7 separate regions of the Homo sapiens genome follow, and regions 1, 2, 3, 4, 6 and 7 are each linked to region 5. The links are contacts of gene promoters, found by promoter capture Hi-C in blood cells and fetal thymus (Javierre and others, 2016). All regions are on one chromosome and are shown on one strand. Each heading gives the region's core, a stretch centred on a gene start or on the middle of the fragment in contact. The rest is flanking DNA. Distances are from core to core; before and after follow the strand shown. Region 1 has its middle 3.9 kb from the start of ASCL2. Region 2 overlaps CD81-AS1 (CD81 antisense RNA 1). Region 3 holds the start of TH (tyrosine hydroxylase). Region 4 has its middle 9.4 kb from the start of C11orf21. Region 5 holds the start of CDKN1C (cyclin dependent kinase inhibitor 1C). Region 6 overlaps CD81-AS1 (CD81 antisense RNA 1). Region 7 has its middle 38 kb from the start of MIR4686.

Evidence for each region. The method cuts DNA at HindIII sites, captures the fragments that hold promoters and counts their contacts. A CHiCAGO score of 5 or more calls a contact.
Region 1: a fragment that was not itself captured here is called in contact with the fragment with the promoter of CDKN1C in region 5 in 1 of 17 cell types (M0 macrophages); the score reaches 5.2 in M0 macrophages.
Region 2: a contact is called between a fragment that was not itself captured here and the fragment with the promoter of CDKN1C in region 5, in 1 of 17 cell types (M1 macrophages). The highest score is 5.2, in M1 macrophages.
Region 3: the fragment with the promoter of TH here is called in contact with the fragment with the promoter of CDKN1C in region 5 in 4 of 17 cell types (total B cells, naive B cells, M0 macrophages and 1 more); the score reaches 7.6 in total B cells.
Region 4: a fragment that was not itself captured here is called in contact with the fragment with the promoter of CDKN1C in region 5 in 1 of 17 cell types (total B cells); the score reaches 5.4 in total B cells.
Region 6: a fragment that was not itself captured here is called in contact with the fragment with the promoter of CDKN1C in region 5 in 2 of 17 cell types (naive B cells and total CD4 T cells); the score reaches 6.0 in naive B cells.
Region 7: a contact is called between a fragment that was not itself captured here and the fragment with the promoter of CDKN1C in region 5, in 1 of 17 cell types (naive B cells). The highest score is 6.1, in naive B cells.

What each region holds. Positions count from the first base shown.
Region 1 is chr11:2,264,860-2,268,461 of GRCh38, reverse strand. No RefSeq gene overlaps it. Among named protein-coding and RNA genes, the nearest start is that of ASCL2, 3.9 kb to the left of the region's middle. The HindIII fragment of the contact is 1,647 bases long and covers 553-2,199 here.
Region 2 is chr11:2,328,487-2,332,216 of GRCh38, reverse strand. It overlaps CD81-AS1 (CD81 antisense RNA 1), which reads left to right. Exons shown (of 3, transcript NR_108080.1): 2 at 2,443-2,654; 3 at 2,914-3,468. Among named protein-coding and RNA genes, the nearest start is that of TSPAN32, 28 kb to the right of the region's middle. RefSeq lists an enhancer at 3,137-3,638. The HindIII fragment of the contact is 2,399 bases long and covers 920-3,318 here.
Region 3 is chr11:2,169,922-2,173,429 of GRCh38, reverse strand. It overlaps TH (tyrosine hydroxylase), which reads left to right and starts at 1,615. Exons shown (of 13, transcript NM_000360.4): 1 at 1,615-1,733. The coding sequence starts at 1,644. MIR4686 (microRNA 4686) reads right to left here and starts at 367; the gene lies at 292-367. The HindIII fragment of the contact is 9,589 bases long and covers 1-3,508 here.
Region 4 is chr11:2,290,844-2,294,231 of GRCh38, reverse strand. No RefSeq gene overlaps it. Among named protein-coding and RNA genes, the nearest start is that of C11orf21, 9.4 kb to the left of the region's middle. The HindIII fragment of the contact is 7,512 bases long and covers 1-3,388 here.
Region 5 is chr11:2,884,213-2,887,862 of GRCh38, reverse strand. CDKN1C (cyclin dependent kinase inhibitor 1C) reads left to right here and starts at 2,088. Exons shown (of 4, transcript NM_001122630.2): 1 at 2,088-2,229; 2 at 2,397-3,193. The coding sequence starts at 2,407. It overlaps SLC67A1-AS (SLC67A1 antisense RNA), which reads left to right. Exons shown (of 3, transcript NR_169305.1): 3 at 1-519. RefSeq lists enhancers at 591-1,426, 1,427-2,262, 2,263-3,098. The HindIII fragment of the contact is 9,568 bases long and covers 1-3,650 here.
Region 6 is chr11:2,365,030-2,368,673 of GRCh38, reverse strand. The region is part of intron 1 of CD81-AS1 (CD81 antisense RNA 1); the gene reads left to right. Among named protein-coding and RNA genes, the nearest start is that of CD81, 10 kb to the left of the region's middle. The HindIII fragment of the contact is 225 bases long and covers 1,674-1,898 here.
Region 7 is chr11:2,209,086-2,212,836 of GRCh38, reverse strand. No RefSeq gene overlaps it. Among named protein-coding and RNA genes, the nearest start is that of MIR4686, 38 kb to the right of the region's middle. RefSeq lists an enhancer at 1-424. The HindIII fragment of the contact is 993 bases long and covers 1,563-2,555 here.

The DNA.
Region 1 (3,602 bases), core at 127-2,626, 620 kb after region 5:
GCCAGACTTCCGTGGTCACTACTCCTCAAACCCTGCTGCCTCCTCCGTAGGGTGGGTCTGGGTGAGATCTGGAGTGCAGCCAGGCCGTTGATAGCGGAGCCATTGGGACACCTTGTGAGGCTGGGGGCATCCTCCAGGAGGTGGTGGGCTGGTGGGTTGTCCAGACAGGGCTACTCGCTGGCTTGGAAGCTGCAGGCTGGAGGCTGCTGACCCATCCCGAGGGCTGGGGTAAGTGCTGGGTGTGGGGCTAGGCTGAGGTGGTCTGACCAGAGAGCACCGGCTGTGGGGCTGAGGGCATGGGCTCCTGCGCAGGCCACCACGCTCAGATCTCCACTAACGTGGCAGCTGGGCAGCCCAGGGCAAGTGGGTTAACTTGCAAATGGGTTTGACCAGACCCACCTCAACGGCCTCTGGGAGGAGTTAGTGAGAGGTGCCTGGAGGCTGCCCTCTCGCTAGCTTTGGGTTTTGCCCGCACTGGGGAGGCCCTGCAGGTCTCCGCTCACCTGAATTCTAAGAGCGGCTCTTGAAAGGAACAAGGAAGGCTTGGAAGCTTTGCGCCAGGCTCCCCGCAGCCGGAGAGCTGGCACTGGGATATTACACGGCTATACCTTTGACTCAGGGCCTAGGAGGCTTTGATGTCTCACTGTACCGAAAGCTGCCTTTTAGTGTCCTGGTGGGGGAGGGGTTGTGGGGCTCCCCCGGTTTCTTTAGGGCGCAGAGGCACCCCTTCCTTCAGAAAGGAGTGGTTGGGACAGAGCCGTGGGAGCCCTGCGAGGTGGGAGCAGCTGGTGTTGTCCCAGAGTGGGTGGCTCCTGAATAACCACGGCAACAGGACACCCAGGCTACCGGGATGCCTGGGTCTCAAACGTCAGGCTGGCCAGGTCCCTTCTTATCAGAGGAGCTCAGGGCTCCTCTCTCGCCAGCTGCAGCCTCAGTCCAGGTGGGGGCTCCTCAGCAGCCAAGGTCAAAGCCGAGTCTGTAGCGGGGGTCAAAGGGGTCAGCTGGTCTGATGAGGACCAGGCTCAACTGGGGTCAGTGGACCAGCTGTGGCTTGGGGCTGCAGGGCTCAGGGAACTGGCCTTGGCCAAGGGACAGGAGGGGGCACATTGCCGTGGTCACCCAGGGAGGGACATCCCACAGGCTTCTCCCAGAATCCACACCCGGGTCGGTGGCCTCCCTGAGCCCTCCCCAGGACTCCACACCTTGACCTCAAGGAAAGGCCCACAGCTGCCAGGACCACAGGGGGCTGTTGGGTGGGTGAAGAGGGTAGGGGGGAAACGATGGAAGGCCAGGGCAGAGGAAACGACTGCCACCCACTGGCGTGAAGCGGACAAAACTCTGCAGAGGGTAAGTAGTGCTGCCATTTTTGTTTTCCCATTTTCCCATTTTTCATTTTATTATGGAAAATTTCAAACATACACAAAAGCACCGAGGCCTTTGTTGAGCAGTCTCTGTGCCAGGACTTAGGGTGCATCCGTGTGCCACACAAGCCCGTGCTCGTGGAGCCTGGGTCCTAGCAGTGGACACAGGATCCAACCGTTGTACAGTCTGGCCGGTGGAGGACGCACTGGGCTCCAGGGCAGCCCTGGGAAGCCTCCAGCACCAGTTTCAAGGCCCTTCCTGCCCCATCCATCCCCCACGCCATCCCTGCGTTGCTTTGAAGCAAATCCCAGACTTTGAATCCTTTCACCCGTCATGTTTCACGTGTGCCTCTAAAGGAAACCGCAAAAACATCACCCGCTCAAATGAACCACCGTTCTTTCATATCATCGGGGACCCAGCCAATGGCGCAGTCCTCAGGGGGTCTCGTGGTTTTGTGCAGTTGGCCTTATAGAATCGGGATCCGCCGCAGGTCCACACATCAAGTTTGCTTAATAGGTCTCTTAAGCGCCTTGTAAGCAATTTCCCTCCAGTGTCTTCATTGAAGAAGCGGAGATGTCTGTTCCGTTGAGCCCCCGTGTGCGTGGTGGTGTTGATGGCACCGTGCTGGGTGTTGTTATTGGGAGCCTGTCCCTGTATTTCCTGTAGGACAGGGTATGGGGTGCCAGAAGCGGACCTTTGATCAAGTTTGGGGTGGCCTGCAAATGGGGTTGACACCAGGCCCACCTAATGAGTGTGACAGAGATGCCAAGAAAGATCCGTTCCAGGGAGACAAGGGACTCCCTTTCCGAGTTTGCCTCGAGAACTACCCAGCAAGCTTGTGGAAACTTCCATAGACCTCACAGCGATCTAGGCCCAGGCTATCCCCTCGCCTTCACTGGGGCAGAATCGCGTCGTGGTCTAGTGGCTTCCCACCCGTTGCCACCTCCTTCCTGTGTATTTCCTTTCACACGGGCGTTTCCCCGAATGCAGTCCTTATCCAGTTCATCCCACTTGGCACCTGCTGCTCAGAGGATGTAGTGCTGCTGGACTGCATCTCCCAGGAGACAGGACTTGTAGCGACGATGTAACTTGCTGTCCCAGCGGGGACATTTTTGAGACTGGAAAGGGCTGTGGTTGATAACCAGGACCACAGGCGAGTCTCCTGGGCACAGTGGGCTGCTGATTGCCGTGTTATGAAGACCCCTCCCCACACTGTCATTCACCCAGTGCCCAGTAAAGATGAAGTGCCTGAAGTCACAGGCAAGCTGGTCCAACCCACCTTCTCTTGCTGTCGTTTTGTTTTAGGCTCTCAGCAGCCTAAAGTCATGGTTTTAGTTTCTGTCTCTAGTGATAAGCAGAAAAGAGGGATGAGGAAGGGACCCTGCTGGCTCAACCAGAAACAGAAACTAAGAATCCATGACTGTCTTCTCTCCCTTGGACTCAGCTTGAAAATGATGAGAATTGAGATTTAAGCCCTGGACTCTTTCACTTCCACATTCTTGCAATGTTCACGCCTTCCAGGAAGTGAGGCTGAGCCTGGCGGCTCCTTTGGGGACATGACATCCTTAGCAGTTCAGCATTTGAGATCAGTGAGCCTGGACAGAGCCTCACCTGGCCCAGGTGCCAGCCTGTCCTGGGCTCTGCTGTGGGGGCAGCAGGGCTCTGCTAGGAGCTCATGGTCCAGGCCTAGTCCCCACCTGGAAGTTAGAAACTGATTCCAGGGAGAAGGTGATCGTGATGTCATGTTCAAGGTGCTAAAATATAAAGCATTTTTCTTTCTTCTATAGTCAACCTCTTGACTTACTATTTTATACTTCTTATTTTATACTCACTATTTAATGCCATTCTGAGTAAGAAAGATTAGGAATTTAAGTGACTAGCGTGAATGTAGTTATCCATCTTTATATTATGTGATGCCAGTTTAAAATGCAAGCATAAGAGCATTTAACTTCTATGCGGAATCACTGGAATGACACAGTGTGTGTTTTGTCCTGGCACAGGCGTCTCTATTTCATTTGCTACTAGAACAGTGGAAACTGCACAAAAATGAAATCAGCTGATTTCACTCCTTGACGCAGGCTTGTTCCACCAGCACCCTCCACCTCCTGCTCGCTGATGGGCGAGGAAGGAGGGAAGGGACAAGTTCAAAGACAAAAGGCACTGTGGGTAGATCCATCAGCAAGAGACCTCGGCTAACACAGAGAAGTCGCACAAGTAAGAAAGGACATGACAGGTTCCCG
Region 2 (3,730 bases), core at 870-3,369, 560 kb after region 5:
CCAGACGATGGGCGGCCAGGCAGAGACACTCCTCACTTCCCAGACGGGGTGGCGGCCGGGCAGAGGCTGCAATCTCAGCACTTTGGGAGGCCAAGGCAGGCGGCTGGGAGGTGTAGGTTGTAGTGAGCCGAGATCACACCACTGCACTCCAGCCTGGGCACCATTGAGCACTGAGTGAACGAGAGTCCGTCTGCAATCCCGGCACCTCGGGAGGCCAAGGCTGGCGGATCACTCGCGGTTAGGGGCTGGAGACCGGCCCGGCCATCACAGCAAAATCCCGTCTCCACCAAAACCAGTCAGGCGTGGTGGCGCGTGCCTGCAATCGCAGGCACTCGGCAGGCTGAGGCAGGAGAATCAGGCAGGGAGGTTGCAGTGAGCCGAGATGGCAGCAGTACAGTCCAGCTTCGGCTCCGCATGAGAGGGAGACCGTGGGGAGAGGGAGAGGGAGACGGAGAGGGAGAAGGAGAGGGAGAGGGAGAGCGAAACCTTTTATTTTCTAGAGGGCCTCATCCCACCCACTGAAGGCCTGCATAGAACAAAATGGCTGAGTGGTGTCAGGGTTCTGAGCCCAAGCCTGCATGTATACATCCAGATGGCCTGAAGCAACTGAAGAACCACAAAAGAAGTGAAAGTAGACAGTTGCTGCCTTAACTGATGACATTCCACCATGGTGATTTGTTCCTGCCCCACCCTAACTAATCAATTGACCTTGTGAAATTCCTTCTCCTGGTCAATGAGTATCAGAAGGTCCCCACCGAGCACTTTGTAACCCCCCCGCCCCTGCCCACAAAAGAAAAACCCCCTTTAACTGTAATTTTCCACTACCTACCCAAATCCTATAAAACTGCCCCACCCCTATCTCCCTTTGCTGACTCCTTTTTTGGACCCAGTCTGCCTGCACCCAGGTGATTAAAAAGCTTCATTGCTCACACAAAACCTATTTGGTGGTCTCTTCACACAGAGGCGCGTGACAAATAAGAGGGAAGTCCTCTTACCTGGGTGAGCTGGGACATTGGTTTTTTCCTGTCTTCAAACTCAAACTGAAACATTGGCTCTCCTTGGGTCTTGAGCCTGCTGCCTTTCAGACGGGAGCTTACACCATCAGTCCTCCTGGGTCTCCAAGGTTCCCAACTACGGATCTTGGGACTGCTCAGCCTCTGTAATTGTGTGAGCCAAGTCCTTACAATAATCTCTCTCTGTGTGTATGTACACATCTTACTGACTCGGTTTCTCTGGAGAACCCTGACTGTTACTCAGCATCCTTGGACTTGTTCGAGTCTGACGTTGGCATGGGAGTTGGTTCCGGGGGAATTTACCTGCATGCTTGGAGCTGGATGTGCAGGGTTTAGACAAGACCACCTCATGTACATCTTCTCCAGCCCAATTCCTGTGTCCATCCCAGCTGGGACAAGCAACCCCACACCACGGCCCCTAGGCCCCTGACCTCCCCTGTCCAGTGAACTTCATCTGCCCCACTGTGCCCATCACCATCCCTGGGGTCTCTTTAATTTTGGGTTGCTTCCTCTCTGAGATTTAAAGTCCAAACCTTGCACCCCTTCCACACCTCCAGGCCCTGTGTGTTTGCTTTGCCCACCTGCTTTGCTGGGAGTGCTCTACGCAGCCGTACTGCATGCTTTCCTCACTGCACTTCTTTGCCTGCACAGCTGGGAACACCTGGTCCTTCACTTTAATCACACCCTTGCCAGTATCCTGAACTCCTATATAGTTGGAACAGCCTTTATTTATTTATTTATTTTGAGATGGAATCTGGCTCTGTCGCCCAGGCGGGAGCGTAGTGGTACGATCTCGGCTCACTGCAACCTCCACCTCCTGGGTTCAAGCAATTCTCCTGCCTCGGCCTCCTGAGTAGCTAGGACTATAGGCATGCACCACCACACCTGGCTAATTTTTGTATTTTTAATAGAGATGGGGTTTCATCATGTTGGCCAGGCTTGTCTCCAACTCCTGACTTCAAGTGATCCACCCGCCTCGATCCCCCTGTGTGCCCTTTCATTTTCTGCCATGTGAGGACACGGCAAGAAGGTCCTCTCAAGTAATCCCAAAGTGCTGGGATTACAGACATGAGCCACTGTGCCTGGCCAGGAACAGCCTTCAGATTGCCCTGGAGAGCTTTTTAGACGCAGATTGCTAGGCTCCACCCCAGCATCCTTAATTTGGGAGGCCTGGGCAGGGCCTGAGAATCTGCATTTCTACCGCATTCCCGGGTGATGCAGCTGGTCCAGGAACCATGCTTTGAAAGTAGGCTACGTTGCAGTTAACAAATACCCCCTGAGGTCTCGGGGTTATTTTTCACTTGCATATGGTGGTCAAGTGACTCTTCATCTTTGAGCTGACTTTGGGAACGTGTGTCCTGTAAGGTCACCTTGGAAAGGGAAGGGCGATTGGGAAGTAGCTTACGTTGCTTCCTCCCATATCCCACAGGTCAGAACTCGGTCACATGACCCTCATGCAACCACACTAACCATAGAGGTGACTGGGAAATGCAGTCTTTCCATTTGCCTAGGAGGAAGAAACAGTGTGGTGAACACATGGTATCGTCTGTTCCGCCATCCACCCCTCTGTTGACCTGCCAAAGTCCACCCAGTCACTACACCCTCTCCAGACCCAGCATCTCCGATGGATGAGCACATCAGGTTTGGATATGCCCTCTCTTGGTCCAGCACCCTATGAATTTAAACATTGAGTTATCTGTCCCCCTATGCTAGATTGTATCTGTGACCCCAGTCTCTCGCCCTTTCCTGTGCCCGAGGCCAGCCACGACTTGCTGTCTTGGGAATGCACCCAGCCAAGATCAGTCAAGCAGAGCCCAGACACATAAGCAGGAAAAGCTGACTGTTGTGCACCACGGAGACTGTGTAGATACGTGTTAATTTGCGTTTCTTCTTATGGCAGCACCCTCCTTCACAGAGCCTGCTTCTGTATTAGTCAGGACAGGCCAGGCTGTATTGTGGTAGCAGTCGGAACCCCCAAACCCAGCTGCTGCCAAGAGAGCAGGCACCGGGGGCCCGAGTGATGGGGACTTGGTGGAGCTGGAGCAGCAAACTTGCTAAAATCACTCCTGGTGACCTGGCAGGCTGAATACAAGAAGGCTCAGCCAGGAGCATAAGGGGCGAAGTGGGAAAACACCACATTGCGAGTTTTGTGTTAGGTCCCGCAACACGAGACGGAGACCAGCTTGAGAAAGAAGGCCCAGCTTACAAGCAGAGATGAAAGTGAACAGAGAGATGGATCCAGAAATTCAGAGCACCGCAAGGGCAGAAAAACCAACTGCTCCAAGAGTTAGGATTTTAACAAGCTTTGGGAGACAAAGGCCCAATAAAATGCCTGACTTGGACCGATCAACAGAAGACAAAGATGGGATTAAGGCCCATTCAAGTCTGAGAGCCTTCTGACAGCTGCCATTGAGTTGATGGAGAGGAATGAGAGCAAATACATCCTGAAACTTCAGTTTTCTGTGTGCATTAGTCATGGCTTACTGTGGTCTGAATATTTGTGTCCCTCCAAAATTCATGTTGAAAAGTCCCCAACGCAACGGTAGTGAGAGGTGGGGCCTTTGGAAGGCGATGAGGCCGTGGGGGCTCCGCCCTCCTGGGTGGGATCAGTGCTTTAGAAAAGGGCGAGGAATGAGCTCGGTGCCTGTGTGCCCTTTCCCTTTCTGCCATGTGAGGACGCGGCAAGAAGGTCCTCTCGAGACATCACCTGCAGTGCA
Region 3 (3,508 bases), core at 366-2,865, 710 kb after region 5:
CCCCAAATCCTTCTGGGCCAGGAAGTGGGAAGGGTTGGGGGGTCTTCCCTTTGCTTTGACTGAGCACTCAGCCTGCCTGCAGAGGGCAGCGAGGAGCCACGGAGGGGTGTGGGACAGGGATGCCATGGCTGAAGCAGTTTTAGGAAAGGTCCCAGGGGCTATTGTTGAAGAGAGAACGGGGAGCGGGGAGTCCCACAGCTGACAGGAGCAGAGTGGGCCCTGAGAGATGCCAGCTCTGGCTGCCACAGTGACCAGCCGGGGTAGGCCTTCGAGAAGTCAGGGAGCGTCTAGGGCTTCTGGCTCCTGCTGGGCCCAGGGTGTCATCTTGGGCTGCCAACACCAGAAAGCCCAGCAGATACAGGAAGCCCCAAGCCCTGTCGGAAACGGTTCTTCTCCAGGAGGGACAGCGGTGGCAGCGTTCAGCCGCAGGCCATGCACTCTGGGGCCACGTCCTTCCCTCTGTACAGTCCAGCATTGTCAAGGCAGGCTCTGGCCATCTCTGCTGACCCCAGAGGGATGGGGAGGCCTCCCCTTCCACCAGAAGGGCCAGAAGCCACCCTGGGCAGGGGCATCACTCTCCCTGGGTGGGGCAGCGGCTGGGAGCAGGAGGTGCCAGTGGGCGTGGGCTGGATGCGGGTGCCTGCGGGGCGGACATGGAACTTGGGGGAGGCTCTAGGCTGGGGTTGTCCTCAAGGGAGTTCTCAGGTCACCCCAGGGTCACCCTCAACCCGGGGCCTGGTGGGGTAGAGGAGAAACTGCAAAGGTCTCTCCAAGGGGAAGGCATCAGGGCCCTCAGCACTGAGGGACGTGCGTGCTCTTTAAAGAAGGGGCCACAGGACCCCGAGGGAAGCCAGGAGCTAGCAGTGGGCCATAGAGGGGCTGAGTGGGGTGGGTGGAAGCCGTCCCTGGCCCTGGTCGCCCTGGCAACCCTGGTGGGGACTGTGATGCAGGAGGTGGCAGCCATTTGGAAACGCGTGGCGTCTCCTTAGAGATGTCTTCTTCAGCCTCCCAGGGTCCTCCACACTGGACAGGTGGGCCCTCCTGGGACATTCTGGACCCCACGGGGCGAGCTTGGGAAGCCGCTGCAAGGGCCACACCTGCAGGGCCCGGGGGCTGTGGGCAGATGGCACTCCTAGGAACCACGTCTATGAGACACACGGCCTGGAATCTTCTGGAGAAGCAAACAAATTGCCTCCTGACATCTGAGGCTGGAGGCTGGATTCCCCGTCTTGGGGCTTTCTGGGTCGGTCTGCCACGAGGTTCTGGTGTTCATTAAAAGTGTGCCCCTGGGCTGCCAGAAAGCCCCTCCCTGTGTGCTCTCTTGAGGGCTGTGGGGCCAAGGGGACCCTGGCTGTCTCAGCCCCCCGCAGAGCACGAGCCCCTGGTCCCCGCAAGCCCGCGGGCTGAGGATGATTCAGACAGGGCTGGGGAGTGAAGGCAATTAGATTCCACGGACGAGCCCTTTCTCCTGCGCCTCCCTCCTTCCTCACCCACCCCCGCCTCCATCAGGCACAGCAGGCAGGGGTGGGGGATGTAAGGAGGGGAAGGTGGGGGACCCAGAGGGGGCTTTGACGTCAGCTCAGCTTATAAGAGGCTGCTGGGCCAGGGCTGTGGAGACGGAGCCCGGACCTCCACACTGAGCCATGCCCACCCCCGACGCCACCACGCCACAGGCCAAGGGCTTCCGCAGGGCCGTGTCTGAGCTGGACGCCAAGCAGGCAGAGGCCATCATGGTAAGAGGGCAGGTAGGTGCCCGGCGGCCGCAGTGGACCGGAGCCCAGGGCTGGTGCCAGCTGCCTCTGCTACTCCCCAGCCTGGCTGGCAGCCCCAGGCTCAGGGTCCATGCAAACCCCTGGGACGCGGCGTGGATGTGGAGGCCTGGGCACAGCGGCATCCCCTGTGCCTGGTGTTTGAGTCCCTGTTGGGGGAGGGTGAGGTGATGCCTGTCCCTGTGTGTGCCCCTCTTAGGCCGACCTCTCTCGGGGGTCGTGTGGGTCTCTGTGTCTTGTTTCATCTTGAATCTTAACGATCGGAATGTGGAAACAAATCCATCCAAAAAATCCAAGATGGCCAGAGGTCCCCGGCTGCTGCACCCAGCCCCCACCCTACTCCCACCTGCCCCTGCCTCCCTCTGCCCCAGCTGCCCTAGTCAGCACCCCAACCAGCCTGCCTGCTTGGGGAGGCAGCCCCAAGGCCCTTCCCAGGCTCTAGCAGCAGCTCATGGTGGGGGGTCCTGGGCAAATAGGGGGCAAAATTCAAAGGGTATCTGGGCTCTGGGGTGATTCCCATTGGCCTGTTCCTCCCTTATTTCCCTCATTCATTCATTCATTCATTCATTCATTCACCATGGAGTCTGTGTTCCCTGTGACCTGCACTCGGAAGCCCTGTGTACAGGGGACTGTGTGGGCCAGGCTGGATAATCGGGAGCTTTTCAGCCCACAGGAGGGGTCTTCGGTGCCTCCTTGGGCACTCAGAACCTTGGGCTCCCTGGCACATTTAAAATGGGTTTTTATTTATGGACCTTGATTGAAATGTGGTGTGAGTTGTAGCAGTGTCATTTCCAGGTACCTTCTCAGGGACACAGGGCGCCCTCCCCCGTCCTCCCCCGCCCTCCCCTACCCTCCCCCACCAGGCTCCCCATCAGGCATCCCCTCCCCAGGGCGCCCCGGGGCCCAGCCTCACAGGCTCTCCGTGGCCTGGAACTGCAGCCCCAGCTGCATCCTACACCCCCACCCCAAGGGTAAGTAAGAGGGGACTCTGGGAGGGGCTTCTGCTGCTCCCCTTCATGTTCCACAACCCTGGAAGCTCAGGATGAAGCTGATTCTTCTCTTACAAGGGGCCCAGAGCCTTCTTGGGAGTTCAGCTCCAAGGGATGAGCCCCAGGTGTCTGCCAAGTCCCCCTCTGTCCAGGCCTGGGACGGCTCTGGGATCGAGGGGTCAGAGGCGCTGAGCCCAGGGAGAGACACCTGCGCCCAGAGCTATGACAAAGGGTGGAGGGATGACAAGGCAGCCAGGAGCGGGCGCCTGCGGGGTGGCACAGAGGGGCAGGGCCCGAGGACAGGTGTCCTGATGGGAGTGTGAGAAAGGGTCCCCTGTGCGGCAGCCAGGAGGGTAGGGGGGTTGTTCACTGGGGCCCTGTGGGGGCAGCTCCTTCCTGAGCTGCCGTTCCCTCCCCGGCAGCCGATGCCACTGTCCATCAAGACATCGCCCTCTTCCCATCACTAATCCAGTTAGCGCCTGGCCTGGGGATGAGTGACACAGCGTCTCTGTCTGTCTGCTCGCCACAGAGTGGGGAGCAGGCGAGCACCTTCCCAGCCCCCACTCCTCCCCCACCACCACTGCTTCTGACTGGGCTGCCCCCATCGGGAAGGGCGTGCAATGCCCGCAGGCACCTCGGCTAGCATCTGCCCCAGCAGGCACACAGTAGGCGCTCAAAAACGTGCTCTCATCCCCTGCCTCTGTGTGCCATCAGCGCTGCCCGACTGTGGGACCAGCTGTGGGTGGAGGT
Region 4 (3,388 bases), core at 818-3,317, 590 kb after region 5:
TGGCCTTCGGGAGACTCACACGGCGCCTGCTGAGTGGGGACGCTTTGCAGAGAGGGCCGTGTCCTCCAGGAGGCGGTCCAGGCTCTGAATTAGAGTCAGTCTATGGAGCGGTTTCTCCTGCCGCCCAGACCTCACGGTTCTGGGAGTCCAGAAGGGGAAGTGGCAATGGCTTCTCTTCACCCTCATGACATTCTGCTGGTGATGTGTTTGCTCCCTGTCCCCACAACTCTAGGTCCTCTTGGTGTAGAAGTCTGAGTTCTCGAGGGAGGAGAGTTTCCCGCAGAGACACCAACGGCTCCACCAGACTGGAAGGTGAGATTGCACCAGGCCATTTTGGGATCCTCACTGCAGAGAATCAATAGGTAAAAAAGGCAGTTACTGCCCGGGCCACGGGACTGATTTTATCGGGCGGAATCGGCCGGGTTGCACAAGGAGGATGAGGAGGAGCACGTCTGGAATGCGGAGGGTCCCCTGCAGCGCCTCTTAAGGTTCCCATGTCCTGTGATTAAAATCATGGAAAACCATCACCCCTGATCCAAGCAGGGTCATTCAGGACCCAGGCTCTCCAGGAATGAAGGCTTAGGGCATCCCACCAGGCAAAGAGCCACATCAGCTGAGTGCTTGCGGAGGCGAAGGCTATGCGGGAGACGGAGGCTGAAACGCTAGTTCCCGCTGCTCGGCTGCTGCAGAAACGAAGCCTATCACAGGTGTGCGTGTTTCTTATTTTGATCCGAGTGTATTGGGTAGGACCACATTAGCCACTGTTTCTTCTCCTCTTCCATTCCCTACCACTTCATACGGTACTAGTGTATGAAGTGTACGTTTGATAGTAGTTGATATTTAATTATTTCAAACATCTCAGTGTTTAAATTTTAGGCTATCAGGCTGGGCACGGTGGCTCAGGCATGTAATCTTAGCACTTTGGGAGGCTGAGGCAGGCGAATCACCTGAGGTCAGGAGTTTGAGACCAGCCTGGCCAATGTGGTGAAACCCCGTCTCTACTAAAAATACAAAAATTAGCCGGGCGTGATGGCCCGTGCCTGTTATCCCAGCTATGTGAGAGGCTGAGGCAGGAGAATTGCTTGAACCCAGGAGGTGGAGGTTGCAGTGAGCCGAGATTGCACTACTGCACTCCAGCCTGGCTGACAGAGTCTGTCTCAAAAAAAAAAAAAAAAAAAAAAAAAAAAAATTAGGATATCAAAGGGAGAATGAGAATCAGCTGAATCCCATTCCAGCTGAATCCTATTCCCCCTTTGATTTTTTTTTTTTTTTTTTAAGGGGAAGAACACCCAGAGATGAATCAGGATCAGGGGCTCTCCTCTTCTCTGGGGGAGAGGGGGACATGCTGTTCTCTTGTATACGCTTGGCCACATCTTGTTGGGTGGAAGAGGGATTTGACTTTGTCTTTATTTGGAAGTTAAGTATGATTAAAAATTGTGGGTGGGGAATCAGAGGACCCCATTTGTATGAAATGTCCAGAACGTGCAACTCCATGGAGGTGGGAAGTGGGTCAGTGTTTGGCAGAGGCTGGGGCAAGGGGAGCGGCTGCTAGTGAGTGGGGAGTTGTTTTTGGGGGTGCTGCGGGTGGCACGCCTCTGTGAAAATACTAAAGCGGGGAGTTGTTTTTGGGGGTGCTGAGGGAGGCACGCCTCTGTGAATATACTAAAGCGGGGAGTTGTTTTTGGGGGTGCTGCGGGTGGCACGCCTCTGTGAATATACTGAAGTAGGGAGTTGTTTTTGGGGGTGCTGCGGGTGGCACGCCTCTGTGAATATACTGAAGCGGGGAGTTGTTTTTGGGGGTGCTGAGGGAGGCACGCCTCTGAATATACTAAAGCGGGGAGTTGTTTTTGGGGGTGCTGCGGGTGGCACGCCTCTGCGAATATACTAAAGCGGGGAGTTGTTTTTGGGGGTGCTGCGGGTGGCACGCCTCTGAATATACTAAAGCGGGGAGTTGTTTTTGGGGGTGCTGCGGGTGGCACGCCTCTGAATATACTAAAGCGGGGAGTTGTTTTTGGGGGTGCTGCGGGTGGCACGCCTCTGTGAATATACTAAAGCGGGGAGTTGTTTTTGGGGGTGCTGAGGGAGGCACGCCTCTGCGAATAAAGTGGGGAGTTGTTTTTGGGGGTGCTGCGGGTGGCACGCCTCTGTGAATAAAGCGGGGAGTTGTTTTTGGGGGTGCTGCGGGTGGCACGCCTCTGTGAATATACTGAAGCGGGGAGTTGTTTTTGGGGGTGCTGCGGGTGGCACGCCTCTGTGAATATACTAAAGCGGGGAGTTGTTTTTGGGGGTGCTGAGGGAGGCACGCCTCTGAATATACTAAAGCAGGGAGTTGTTTTTGGGGGTGCTGCGGGAGGCACGCCTCTGTGAATATACTGAAGCAGGGAGTTGTTTTTGGGGGTGCTGCGGGTGGCACGCCTCTGAATATACTAAAGCGGGGAGTTGTTTTTGGGGGTGCTGCGGGTGGCACGCCTCTGAATATACTAAAGCGGGGAGTTGTTTTTGGGGGTGCTGCGGGTGGCACGCCTCTGTGAATAAAGCGGGGAGTTGTTTTTGGGGGTGCTGCGGGAGGCACACCTCTGCGAATAAAGTGGGGAGTTGTTTTTGGGGGTGCTGCGGGTGGCACGCCTCTGTGAATAAAGCGGGGAGTTGTTTTTGGGGGTGCTGCGGGTGGCACGCCTCTGTGAATATACTGAAGCGGGGAGTTGTTTTTGGGGGTGCTGCGGGTGGCACGCCTCTGTGAATATACTAAAGCGGGGAGTTGTTTTTGGGGGTGCTGAGGGAGGCACGCCTCTGAATATACTAAAGCAGGGAGTTGTTTTTGGGGGTGCTGCGGGAGGCACGCCTCTGTGAATATACTGAAGCAGGGAGTTGTTTTTGGGGGTGCTGCGGGTGGCACGCCTCTGAATATACTAAAGCGGGGAGTTGTTTTTGGGGGTGCTGCGGGTGGCATGCCTCTGTGAATAAAGCGGGGAATTGTTTTTGGGGGTGCTGCGGGAGGCACACCTCTGCGAATATACTAAAGCGGGGAGTTGTTTTTGGGGGTGCTGCGGGAGGCACACCTCTGCGAATATACTAAAGCGGGGAGTTGTTTTTGGGGGTGCTGCGGGAGGCACGCCTCTGCGAATAAAGTGGGGAGTTGTTTTTGGGGGTGCTGCGGGTGGCACGCCTCTGCGAATATACTAAAGCGGGGAGTTGTTTTTGGGGGTGCTGAGGGAGGCATGCTTCTGTGAATATACTAAAAGCCCCTGAATGGTACAGTTAAAACAGTGAATTTTATAGTATGTGAATTATATTTCAATAAAGCTGTGTAGAAAACAAGAGGTACAGGTGGAAGCCCATGGGAGGGATTGGCACAGTGTCGCCCTAGCTGAGCGGGATGTTCATCTTC
Region 5 (3,650 bases), core at 839-3,338:
AGGAATCCCCACAGCACTGGGTTTGACTCTGTAATTAAGCTGGTAAAGTGGAAAAATAAAAGTAGGAAACCTAAGTGGAAACCAAACCAGAAAGCCAGGCAGCCCGGGAGTTCTGAGCCCTGCTTCCTTCCAGCTGTGCGGCCTCAGCGGCTGACGCGGTCTCTGCTGCTCTTCTATAACACAGGATGATGGCAGCTACACCCTCTGAGTGGTGTCACCAAGGCCAATGAGTCCTGATGGTTGGAGTGTGGGTATCCGGGGGCCTCTAGGTCACTACCCACTCTAGCCCTTTGCTCCTAGTCTCTGGGGAGGTGGCAGCATAGGGGCATGGAGCAGACTAGACTTTGCCTCTTTCTGCCCCCAGGCCAGTTGATATGAGCCCTGCTTGAGGGGTTCGCAGGGCCTGGGGAGCCTTCTTCAGCTTCTCTTTGTTTTCCTAAGATGAAAATTGTGACATCTGGGCTTGTTGCGGGAAATTTGTAAATTGTGCACAGAGAAGAATATGAAATTGCACATAAATCATGGCTTTTGGTTCCACCATCAAGAGCCAAGAATGGCCCTGGCCCCTCTCCTGGGTTAACGCCCTGTCCCATCCAGTTCACCCCCCTCACTTCAGATCTCGCTTCCCTGAGACCCAGAAGACCCGCCCTGCTCCCCCAGCTGCAGCTGCACACTGCCACAGCATTCCATGGGGGTGGGGGTGTCTTGGGACTCAAAGGCAGGCTGGTTGGGGTTCAGGGGACCGCACCTTCCCTCCCTCCCAGAGGTCTCTCTGCTGGCTCACAGGCTCACCTGAGATAGGGGCTTAGATCTCATGGGCTGCTGGACCCTCCAACAGGTGTCTGACAGTCCCCATCCCGATCTGGGAGGCTCCTGGTTTGAGGAGGGGGCTCCCTGCCTCATGGTAGGTGGGCCAAAAGGGAGGCAGCAGGAAATAATGGTCTCTTTTGGTCTGGCCTGGCTGGGGTGAAGCACCGTGTGTGTGCGTGCGTGTGTGTGTGTGTGTGTGTGTGCGTGCGCGCACGACCGAGGTCTGTACCAGGAAGGGCTGCAGGCGGGGGAGGGGCATGGTCCTTCACAGCCCCTTCCCCTATGACCTCGGGCAGATCTTTCACTTTTACCCAGTACAACAGCTTCCAGCCAGCCTGGACAGGCAGATCCCGGGGCTGGAGTGGTCTGGCCCAAGGCTGAGAAGGGCTGGGACCCCCGACAGTGACATGATGGGCTCAGCCCCTGTTCCATCTACTGGGCAGGGTGGGCCTCCGCAGATAGCGGCTTCAGACTCCAGCTCCAGGGGGCTGGTGGGAGTCTCTCAAGGTGTCCCACACATGGTCCCTCGGGGAAAGAGTGGAGCTGACCCCTGTCCCCCCTCCCGACTCGAGGGCCTTAGGGCCAGCAGGTGTGTGAGGGCTCCAGGCGCGCGGAGCCCTCGAAGGGACACCAGCCCAGCAGCAGCAGGCCGCGCGGGGGCAGCCGAAGACCCCATCCGGCGCAGGCCAGGGCCGAGCTGGCAGCGGCGGGTCCAAGCCTCGTCAGCTGGCGCAGGAGGCCCACGGGCGAGCGCGGGACGGAGCTGGGCGCCGGGGTCCGGACCGGGCCGGGGTCGAGTTGGGCCTGGCCGGACACCGGACCCGCCAGGAGCCGGCCCCTGCCGCGCTGGGCTGAGGCCCCCGCCTGCAGACAAAGGAGCCGGCGGGGGGCGGGAGCCGGGGGGGTGGGGGAGTGTTGCAGGGGGGATGGGGCGAGGGGGCGGGCGTCGCGGTGTCACGTTACCGCCCGCAGCGCCCTTTAACTCCCGCCCCCGCCCCGCTCACCGCCCCCTTCCCCTGCTACAGCGCGCTCGCCCCGCGGCCGCCAATCAGCCGCGCGCCCCGGCCGCGCGCCCCGCCCCGCCCCCGGTGGGTGTGCGCGCGGCCAATGGGCGGTGCGCGGGGGCCGGGCCGCGGCGGGGCGGGGCAGCGGGGCGGCCGCCAATCGCCGTGGTGTTGTTGAAACTGAAAATACTACATTATGCTAATCGCGGCCGGGCCCGCGCGCACGGGGGTGGGGCCCGCGCGTATAAAGGGGGCGCAGGCGGGCTGGGCGTTCCACAGGCCAAGTGCGCTGTGCTCGAGGGGTGCCGGCCAGGCCTGAGCGAGCGAGCTAGCCAGCAGGCATCGAGGGGGCGCGGCTGCCGTCCGGACGAGACAGGCGAACCCGACGCAGAAGAGTCCACCACCGGACAGCCAGGTAGCCGCCGCGTCCCTCGCACACGCAGAGTCGGGCGGCGCGGGGTCTCCCTTGCGCCCGGCCTCCGCCCTCTCCTCCTCTCCTTTCCCCTTCTTCTCGCTGTCCTCTCCTCTCTCGCTGCCCGCGTTTGCGCAGCCCCGGGCCATGTCCGACGCGTCCCTCCGCAGCACATCCACGATGGAGCGTCTTGTCGCCCGTGGGACCTTCCCAGTACTAGTGCGCACCAGCGCCTGCCGCAGCCTCTTCGGGCCGGTGGACCACGAGGAGCTGAGCCGCGAGCTGCAGGCCCGCCTGGCCGAGCTGAACGCCGAGGACCAGAACCGCTGGGATTACGACTTCCAGCAGGACATGCCGCTGCGGGGCCCTGGACGCCTGCAGTGGACCGAAGTGGACAGCGACTCGGTGCCCGCGTTCTACCGCGAGACGGTGCAGGTGGGGCGCTGCCGCCTGCTGCTGGCGCCGCGGCCCGTCGCGGTCGCGGTGGCTGTCAGCCCGCCCCTCGAGCCGGCCGCTGAGTCCCTCGACGGCCTCGAGGAGGCGCCGGAGCAGCTGCCTAGTGTCCCGGTCCCGGCCCCGGCGTCCACCCCGCCCCCAGTCCCGGTCCTGGCTCCAGCCCCGGCCCCGGCTCCGGCTCCGGTCGCGGCTCCGGTCGCGGCTCCGGTCGCGGTCGCGGTCCTGGCCCCGGCCCCGGCCCCGGCTCCGGCTCCGGCTCCGGCCCCGGCTCCAGTCGCGGCCCCGGCCCCAGCCCCGGCCCCGGCCCCGGCCCCGGCCCCCGCCCCGGCCCCGGCCCCGGACGCGGCGCCTCAAGAGAGCGCCGAGCAGGGCGCGAACCAGGGGCAGCGCGGCCAGGAGCCTCTCGCTGACCAGCTGCACTCGGGGATTTCGGGACGTCCCGCGGCCGGCACCGCGGCCGCCAGCGCCAACGGCGCGGCGATCAAGAAGCTGTCCGGGCCTCTGATCTCCGGTGAGCCCCGCACGGCCCCGCCCCGGCCCGGCCCGGCCCCGCTTTGTCCGGCCGGCCGGTCCCCCCAGCCCTCGGGGGCCTCGCTGGGTTCCCGCCTCCTCCCGTGGCATTAAAGGGCCCGCAGCGCTCAGGGCGCGGCTGCGCCCTTACCCCCCTCCCCGCCCCGTTGTTGTGCCCTCCAGCGGCTTCGCGCGGGCGGGGTGGGAGGCTGAATCCCGGCCGCGACCCCCCGGGAGCGCAGTTTTCGCCCCCGGCCGCGGGAGCCCCTCCCCGGGCGCGGCCGGGCGCCGTGAGCACGGCGTGGAGGGGGTTAAGCGCGGCGGCGGCCCCGGGGGGCTTGGCCGCGGGACAAGGGGAAATGCTTACACAGCACATTGCGCGGCGACGTAAACAAAGCTGACCCGCCGCGGACCTCGGCGCGGGCGGGGACGGCGCCCCCACCCCGGCCGGCCCGCGC
Region 6 (3,644 bases), core at 537-3,036, 520 kb after region 5:
GAGGCTCTGATACCATCTCCTCCTCAGGATCCCTGGCAGGCAGCAGAATCCAGAAATCCGGGCTGAGCTGAGCAGGGGGAGTGTGGTTGGGGCCTCCCGGGTGGGCCCAGGAGGCTGGTGGCTATACTCTGTGACTCTGTGGGCCTGGCTTGAGGGGGAAGACAGTGAATAGTCTGCCTATTTACTGTCTCCAGCTGGGGCTCCCCTTTGCTGATGGGGTCCCCTCTCCAGGGTGTCTCCCCTCCACTGAGGGTCTCCTCTCCCTGGACCAAGTGACCCCTGTCTGCATTTGCAGGTTGGGGACAGGTGGGGCTGGCTGGCACCTGTCATTGATTTATTAATAAATCAATAATTTTGGGGGTGGCTGCCTGCTGGAGGTGGGATGGGTGGTGGAGGAGTCACCTTCACTCTTGTCTAAACCCATGAGTTTTTGTTCAACACTGGGATGGGGAAAGCAGCTTGTTAGGACCCTGTTCCCTGAGGAGGGATGGGTGAGGCTGTTGGGGTGAGGCTGTCTGTCAGCCGTGACCAGAGCTGGCTGAGCTACCCTAGGCTTCATGTCCCCAGGTGCAGCATAGCCATGGGACGCCCAGGGGCCTCTGATCCCCTTCCTACAAGCTGTGTGTAGTTTAAAGGGGCTGGGAGTGCAGAAGAGGACGCGGGCCTGCTTTTCCACACTGGCTCCGTTCCCTTCGTGCGGGTGCCAGCCAGGCCCGGCCTTTTCTGGCCAGGGTCACCGTGTCCTGGACCCAGCCCTGACCCCTCCATTCCCTACCGTGTTGTCACCATCCCCTGTGAGGAGGGACCCCTGAGGCCTCTTTCTCCCGCTCTAGAGGCTCTTCCGGACCCCTGATCCTCACAGCCTGGGCCTCCCCAGAGGCTTCTGGGGCCACTGGTTCCCCGTACAAGCTGATACCAGCCGTTAATGACATTGCCTTGTTTACTTCAGCATGAGCTGGGCCACAGAGGGGAAGCTGTGTTGCTGAAGGGGACTCTGAAGATTACCATTGGAGGGGCTGCCTGGCTGAGACCTGAATAAGTGAGCAGTGCCCAAGAACAGAAAGGGGAGGTTGTCAGATGCTGGCCAGCACTGCCTAGCCCCAACCTGCAGACACAGATAGGGCGGAGGGGTCACCCAACCCAGGAAGGGGAGCTCATCTATGGAGGGGAGCCCCCCTGGAGTAGGGACCCCATCAGAGGACCCCGTCAGCAGAGGGGAGCCCACCCGGAGAGGGGACCCTATCAACAGAGAGGAGACCTAGCTGGAGAGGGGACCCTGTCAGCAGAGAGCAGCCTCACCTGGAGAAGGGACTTCATCAGCCAAGGGAGCCCCAGATGGAAAGGAGACCCTGTCAGTGGAGAGGAGCCCCAGCTGAAGAGGGGACCCCATCAGTGGAGGGAGCCCAAGCTGAAGAGGGGACCACATCAGTGGAGGGAGCCCCAGCTGGAGAGGGGACCCCATCAGTGGAGAGAGCCACAGCTGTAGAGGGAACCCCATCAGTGGAGGGAGCCCCAGCTGGAGAGGGGACCCCATCAGCAGAGGGAAGCCACAGCTGGAGAGGGGAACCCATCAGCAGAGGGGAGCCCACAGGGGTATCCAGAGGGAAGGCCAGGTTGGGTATCCTGGGAGTGGGAAGTTGGGTCAGAGGTGAGGCTTTTGCAGCGAGCAAGCTTGTTTCAGGTTGGGAGTGCCCAGCGGGCAGTGGGGGTTGGTGGACGCAGCAGGGAGGAAGTTCCAGGGTCTTTGACAGCGGCTGCTCCCCACTGCAGAGCTGACAATCTCTTGAGGACTCCAAGAATGAACGGATGGCCAAGCCTGGGCCTCCAGTGGGAACAGCGCCACCGTGGAAGAGGAGGGAGGTTGTCCTCATGTAGGGGGCAGGCTGGAGAGACAAGCTTGGGGTGGATGATGGTTTGCTTCTTAGGTGAAGGAAAATGAAGAGCCACCTGCAGCCATCGCTCTGCTCTCCAAATCAATCCTGAATAACTGGGAGAGAAAAACTTAAAAATGAGACCAGTGAATGGAATGGGAGGTGGGATGGGGATGTGGCAGAAGAGGGGGCCGCCCCACTCCTGTTGGACGTGGGGGCACTGGGAGCCACATGCATGCCAGGGACGCCCAGCCCCTGGCCCTGGGCCAGCCTCACTGGCAGTGGCTGGGGACAGTGGGTCTCTGTGCCTCCTCCTCGTCTCTGCGGTCCCTGGCTGGGTGCCCACCCTCTCCCTCATCTCGCCGTCTGCCTTCCTTTCATTTCTTTTTGGCATGGTTCTCTCACTGTCCAGGAAGGAACTTGGCGTCTTGCACCCCAGGCGGGCAGAGCCAGGAGCCCAGCTGACCCAGAAGGGCTCGGGTGGAGTGGGTGGGTGGTGGGAAAGCAGCTGGAGCCCCCGAATGCAGAGCCTGCCCCGTCTGCCGTGCCTGGAGGGCACCCCTCACTCCTCAGGCTCTCCAGAAGGTCAGCTATGGGGGCAGGGTCTGGGCCCATTCTGGACCCTGCTGTATCCCAGGGACCATTTAAATGGGGGCCTGGCACAGACTAGGGGTTCAGTTGTTAAATGAATAAGCAAAGCTCAAAGCCCCCTATGTTCCTTGCCTGAGCCAAGAAGGAAGCCTGGGCCTGGCTTCTGAGTCCACCCACCCTCCTTGTGAGGTAGGAAGGCAGTGGCATTGCATAACTGACCACCTACAGGACCGGGCCACGCCGAGAGGGAGCAGGCGCCTTGATGCTCCTAGATCGTCGGCCAGACTCCCCCTCCCCAGTCCTTGGAGCCTCCTTGCTTCTTCAACCCCTGTCAGAGTCCGTGGGGCAAGGTGAGACTGGGAACACTGTCTCCTCCCCCAGACGTGGCTGATCTCAGCCTGGAGCCCCACCCCAGGGCTGCACAGGACCAGGGTCCAGATCATCAGCCCAGGATGCACGGTGGACTATGTGTGCCCAGCACTCGTGCACCGAGAGACCCGTCTTGTTTCCCATGAGCCCCTCGGTGCTGGGTGCCGGGTGAGAGCATAGCCCTGGTGATCCTGGTGGTCTTCTCCAGACTCTGATGTTTCCTTCCAGTCTCCCGGCCCTCCCCTCAATGTGCAGTGTGTGCGGGTTGAGGGGGCTGCTGTGGTCTGAATGTGTCCCCCATCTCTGTAATCATGATGGACTAACATCATTGTCGTGGGAGCGGGCTCTGACAGAAGGATGAGTTTGGTCCCCTTCTCTCTGGCTGTCTCTCTCTCCCTCTCTTTGCCCTTCTGTCATGGGATAAGGCAGCACAAAGACCCTTGCCAGAGGTGGCCTGTCGATCTCGGACCTCCCAGCCTCTAGGACCAGGGGCCAATAAGTTAGCCAGTCTGTGGTTTTCTGTTCTAACAGCACACGATGGACTAAGACCACAGGCCAAGTCTCCCCAGTGTATCACCATTAGGCCACACCCTGATACGGTTTGGATCTGTGTACCTGCCTAAATCTCATGTTGAATTGTAATCCCCAATGCTGGAGGTGGGGCCTGCTGGAGGTGATTGGCTCATGGGGGTGGATTTCCCCCCAGTGCTGTTCTCGTGATAGTGAGTTCTCATGAGACCTGCTTGTTTAAAGGCATATGGCACCTCCCCTCTCTCCCTCTGGGCTTCCTCCTGCTCCGGCCACGTGAAGTGC
Region 7 (3,751 bases), core at 810-3,309, 670 kb after region 5:
AGATCAAGGCACAGATCAAGGCCGTGGCCAGCCCCAGGCAGAGCTGGGAGTGAGCCAGGCCGCCCGACTGGGGTCTGTGGCCTGGCCTCGGCCCCAGCCCGTCTTGGTTTCCCACACTCAGGGACCCACTGTTTGTGTGTCTGTCTCAGTGGGCTGTCATTTTTAAAAGGAGGTGAAGTTCACATACCCAGAATTAGCTATTTTCAGTGCACAATCCAGCGTATCCAGCACGATCTCAGTGCTGTGCGACCCTCACCTCGGTCTAGCTCTGGAGCACGTGCATCCCCCAGGCGGAAACCCTGTCACTGAGCGGTCACTCCCCGTCTCCACCACCCCCCTCCCTGGGCGGCCACCCATCTATTTTTGTCCCTATGGATTTGCCTATTCTGGACATTTCATATAAAGGGAGTCCATCACCACGCGGCGTTGTGTGCCCGGCCTCTTCCACCGAATGTGGCGTTGGTGAGGCCTGTCCATGCTGCAGCCTGCATCTGTCCATCATTCCTCGCATGGCCCAATAATGTTCCATTGTACAGGCAGACCACAGTGGGCTCGTCTTTTTTTTTTTTTTGAGACGGAGTGTCACTCTGTCGCCCAGGCTAGAGTGCAGTGGTGCGATCTCTGCTCACTGCAAGCTCCGCCTCCCGGGTTCACGCCATTCTCCTGCCTCAGCCTCCCCAGTAGCTGGGACTACAGGCGCCTGCCATCGCGCCTGGCTAATTTTTTGTATTTTTAGTAGAGACGGGGTTTCACCGTGTTAGCCAGGATGGTCTCGATCTCCTGACCTCGTGATCCACCCGCCTCGGCCTCCCAAAGTGCTGGGATTATAGGCGTGAGACACCATGCCCGGCCTGGGCTCGTCGTTTTCGTGGTTGGTGCATGCCGGGGTCGTTTCCACCTGTTGCCTCTGGTGAGTGATGCTGCCGGGAACATGGGTGTGCACGTGTCTGCCTGAGTCCCTGCTTTCACTTCTGGGGATAGACCTGGGGTGGGATTGCTGGTCACACGGTAGTGCTGGGGGTAACCGGCCTGCGTGGACCGGCCAGGGCATTTCCCATGGCAGCTGTGCTGCTGACGTCCCACAGCTGTGTGAGGCTTGCTCACGGGGCTCTAACTGCATGCCCACTCCTGGCCCGTGGGTCTGGAGTACACAGAGAGTGGCCGGCTCTCAAGCGTCTGAGCAGCTCCCACAGCCTGGGCGCCTGCCTGGTGTGGAGGGGTCGGGGCAGGTGTCTTGCTGGGGACTCCAGCAGCTTCCTCTGGACTTGTCTCCCGGCTCCAGGGTTGCTGGGAGGCTAGTTCTAAAACAGGGGAGAAGCCGTGTGCTCTCTCTGCCCACTGGGAGCCCCAGTGTAGGACGACTGTGCCCTTGTGGGGTGGGGGGAGCTGGTGCCCACACCACGCCAGGCAGCTCCCCCACCCTGGCCTCAGGCAGAGCTGCCATCCTTCTCCCCTTGGTTTAACCATTAACTGGTCGCCTGCGGTGCACCCGGAGACAATGGCGTGTTTGTTCAGCGCAGTCCGCAGGGGCCTGTGCAGGGTCTGGCACAGTCATCAAAGCTTTGCGATTAAGACTATTAGGGACGGGATTTGTGCAAACAAAGGGACAGGTGCAGGGGCCAGGCCAGCTGCTGGGGCCGGGTGCTCTGCTGGGAGGCCATAAACCTCCCTGGGCCATGGGGCCTCCCTTGCCTGCAGCCCGCTCACTGAGGCTTTGCTGTTTGCCCAGGCACAGAGGCCGGGCTGCACAGGGCAGTGTGTCCCCAGGGCATCCTGCTCCCCCCACCCCTTGGCTCCTGGGCTGCCTGGAACCTGGTTGGCTCAGGAGCTTTTTATCTACAGCTCCTCTGTCTATGTCCCCTTGGCAGGTCCTTTTTAACATGAGTCCTCCTCCAGTGAAGGAAAGGGTCATGCCAGGGCCTGCACCTAGGGCCTCCGTTCTCCAGTGGGTGTCTTTGCATGAAACGGCCTGGGCCCTGGCACTTGCCCCACCAGCGCTGCCTGCAACCTTGTCCCTGTACCTCGGGCCTCCACCACATCCCTGGACCTGCACGAAGGAGCCCTGAGCATGGAAGTCAGGGGAAGGGAGGTCTCGACATGAGCCCAGCCATGGCCAGAGTACTGAGCCCAGGGCCAGCAGCCTCGGCTGGCAGTGCAGGGTGATGGGTCTGTGGGCCGGGCTGCCCAGGGACCTCGGCCCTGGGGTCTGAGGGGCACCAATGCCTTTTGCAGGCCACCATTTCCCTTTCCACTTTCCAAATGTGATTGGACACAGGTGGATGCACCTGCCTGCCCAGCAGACAGCCCGGTTCTGACCCGTGTGGAGCTGCGTGGACTGGGCTCACCTGTGCCTTCTTGCATCAACCAGGTGTGGACCCTGACAAGGTGCCAGCCACTGTCCTCCAGGAGCTACCTCAGGGACACGCAGGGAGGGACTGGACAGACAGATGGAGCGCAGTCCTTGCTGCCCGGCCAAGCCCTTGTGGGCAGGGCAGACTCCTTCAAGATCATCAAATGAAAGCAGGCAAAAACCACGTCCTTTTGTGACCTAAGCTTGGAAGCAATGTTGTCACTTCTGCCTCATCCTATTGGTTAGAAGTGAGCCAGGAGGTCCTGTCCACATCCAAGGTGGGAGTCCCCGCAGGACGGGGCCTGGGAGGTGGGCCCATGGGCTCCAGAGGGGCTGGACCACAGCAAGAAGAACGAGGCCAACCTCCATGGGTAGCGCAGACCGGCTCAGGCCCTGCCCTTCCCGCCGGGGTCCCCTGTGACAGGACGCAAGGGCACAGCTGCGGAGCAGGGTGGGCTGTTAGAGCTGGGCAGAGGCCACAGTGGCCAGAGGGCTGGTGAGAGTGGCTCTCCTGCTGCCCTAGCCACTGGCTGAAGATCTGCCTGGGGAGGAGTGGGTTTGGGCGGCCGGGCCTAGGACCCCTTCATAGCTACCACTAATACTCATTCTCTGCTCCTGAGAAACCTCCTCCAGGGGCCTCTGGGGTCTTGGAGATGAGACAGAGGGACCTCAGGCAGGACAGACAAGAGACCCTGGTCTCGGGTGTCCACAGAGCGGGAGCCAGGCAGGCTGGGCGGAAGTCCTAGGCTTGGACCCTGTTACGGGACTTTCCCTGTCAGAATGGGCTCAGGAGGGAGTGAGTGCGTGGTCCTCAGGTGTGCAAGTGCCAAGGCTGGAGCCCACCCCCTGGGAAGCAGGGCCAGGGTGGCTGGGGCGGACTTGATCCCTGGAGAGGAGCGTGGGCAGCCAGGGCAGGGAGGAGGGCAGGCAGGAGGGAGGTCCAGGCCTGTGGGCCGACAGGGGGTGAGGAGGCAGTCTGGGGACCTGAGAGAAGGCCGAGTGGCTGTGGGGTGGGTGACCTGGGGCCCTGACTCTGCCTTACCCTTGGCCATGGGGCCACATTCATGCTCGGCCCCCGCCCAGCCTGGGCTGGGAAGGCATCAGCCTGGCCATGAGGCAAGGGGCCGGCCATGCCTGGGGCCAGAGGGGGTCCCCCAGCCCTTCGCCTTCTCTCCATCTCCTGAGTAGGGCCCCTGCCCTGCTCTGACAGGGTGGTCACCTTGCCCCGCTCCGTGCCCAGTCCTGAGCTGGCAGTGTCTCCAGCCTTTGCAGCGTGGCCCTGTCTGCCTCTGTGTGTGTCTGGGCTCCTCTCATTTGGCCGCCCTGCCCGTCTACACTGGTGCCCCCCCACCTGCACTGTCCACCGGGCCAGGCTCTGTCTCTGCCACCTGTTGGGTGCTT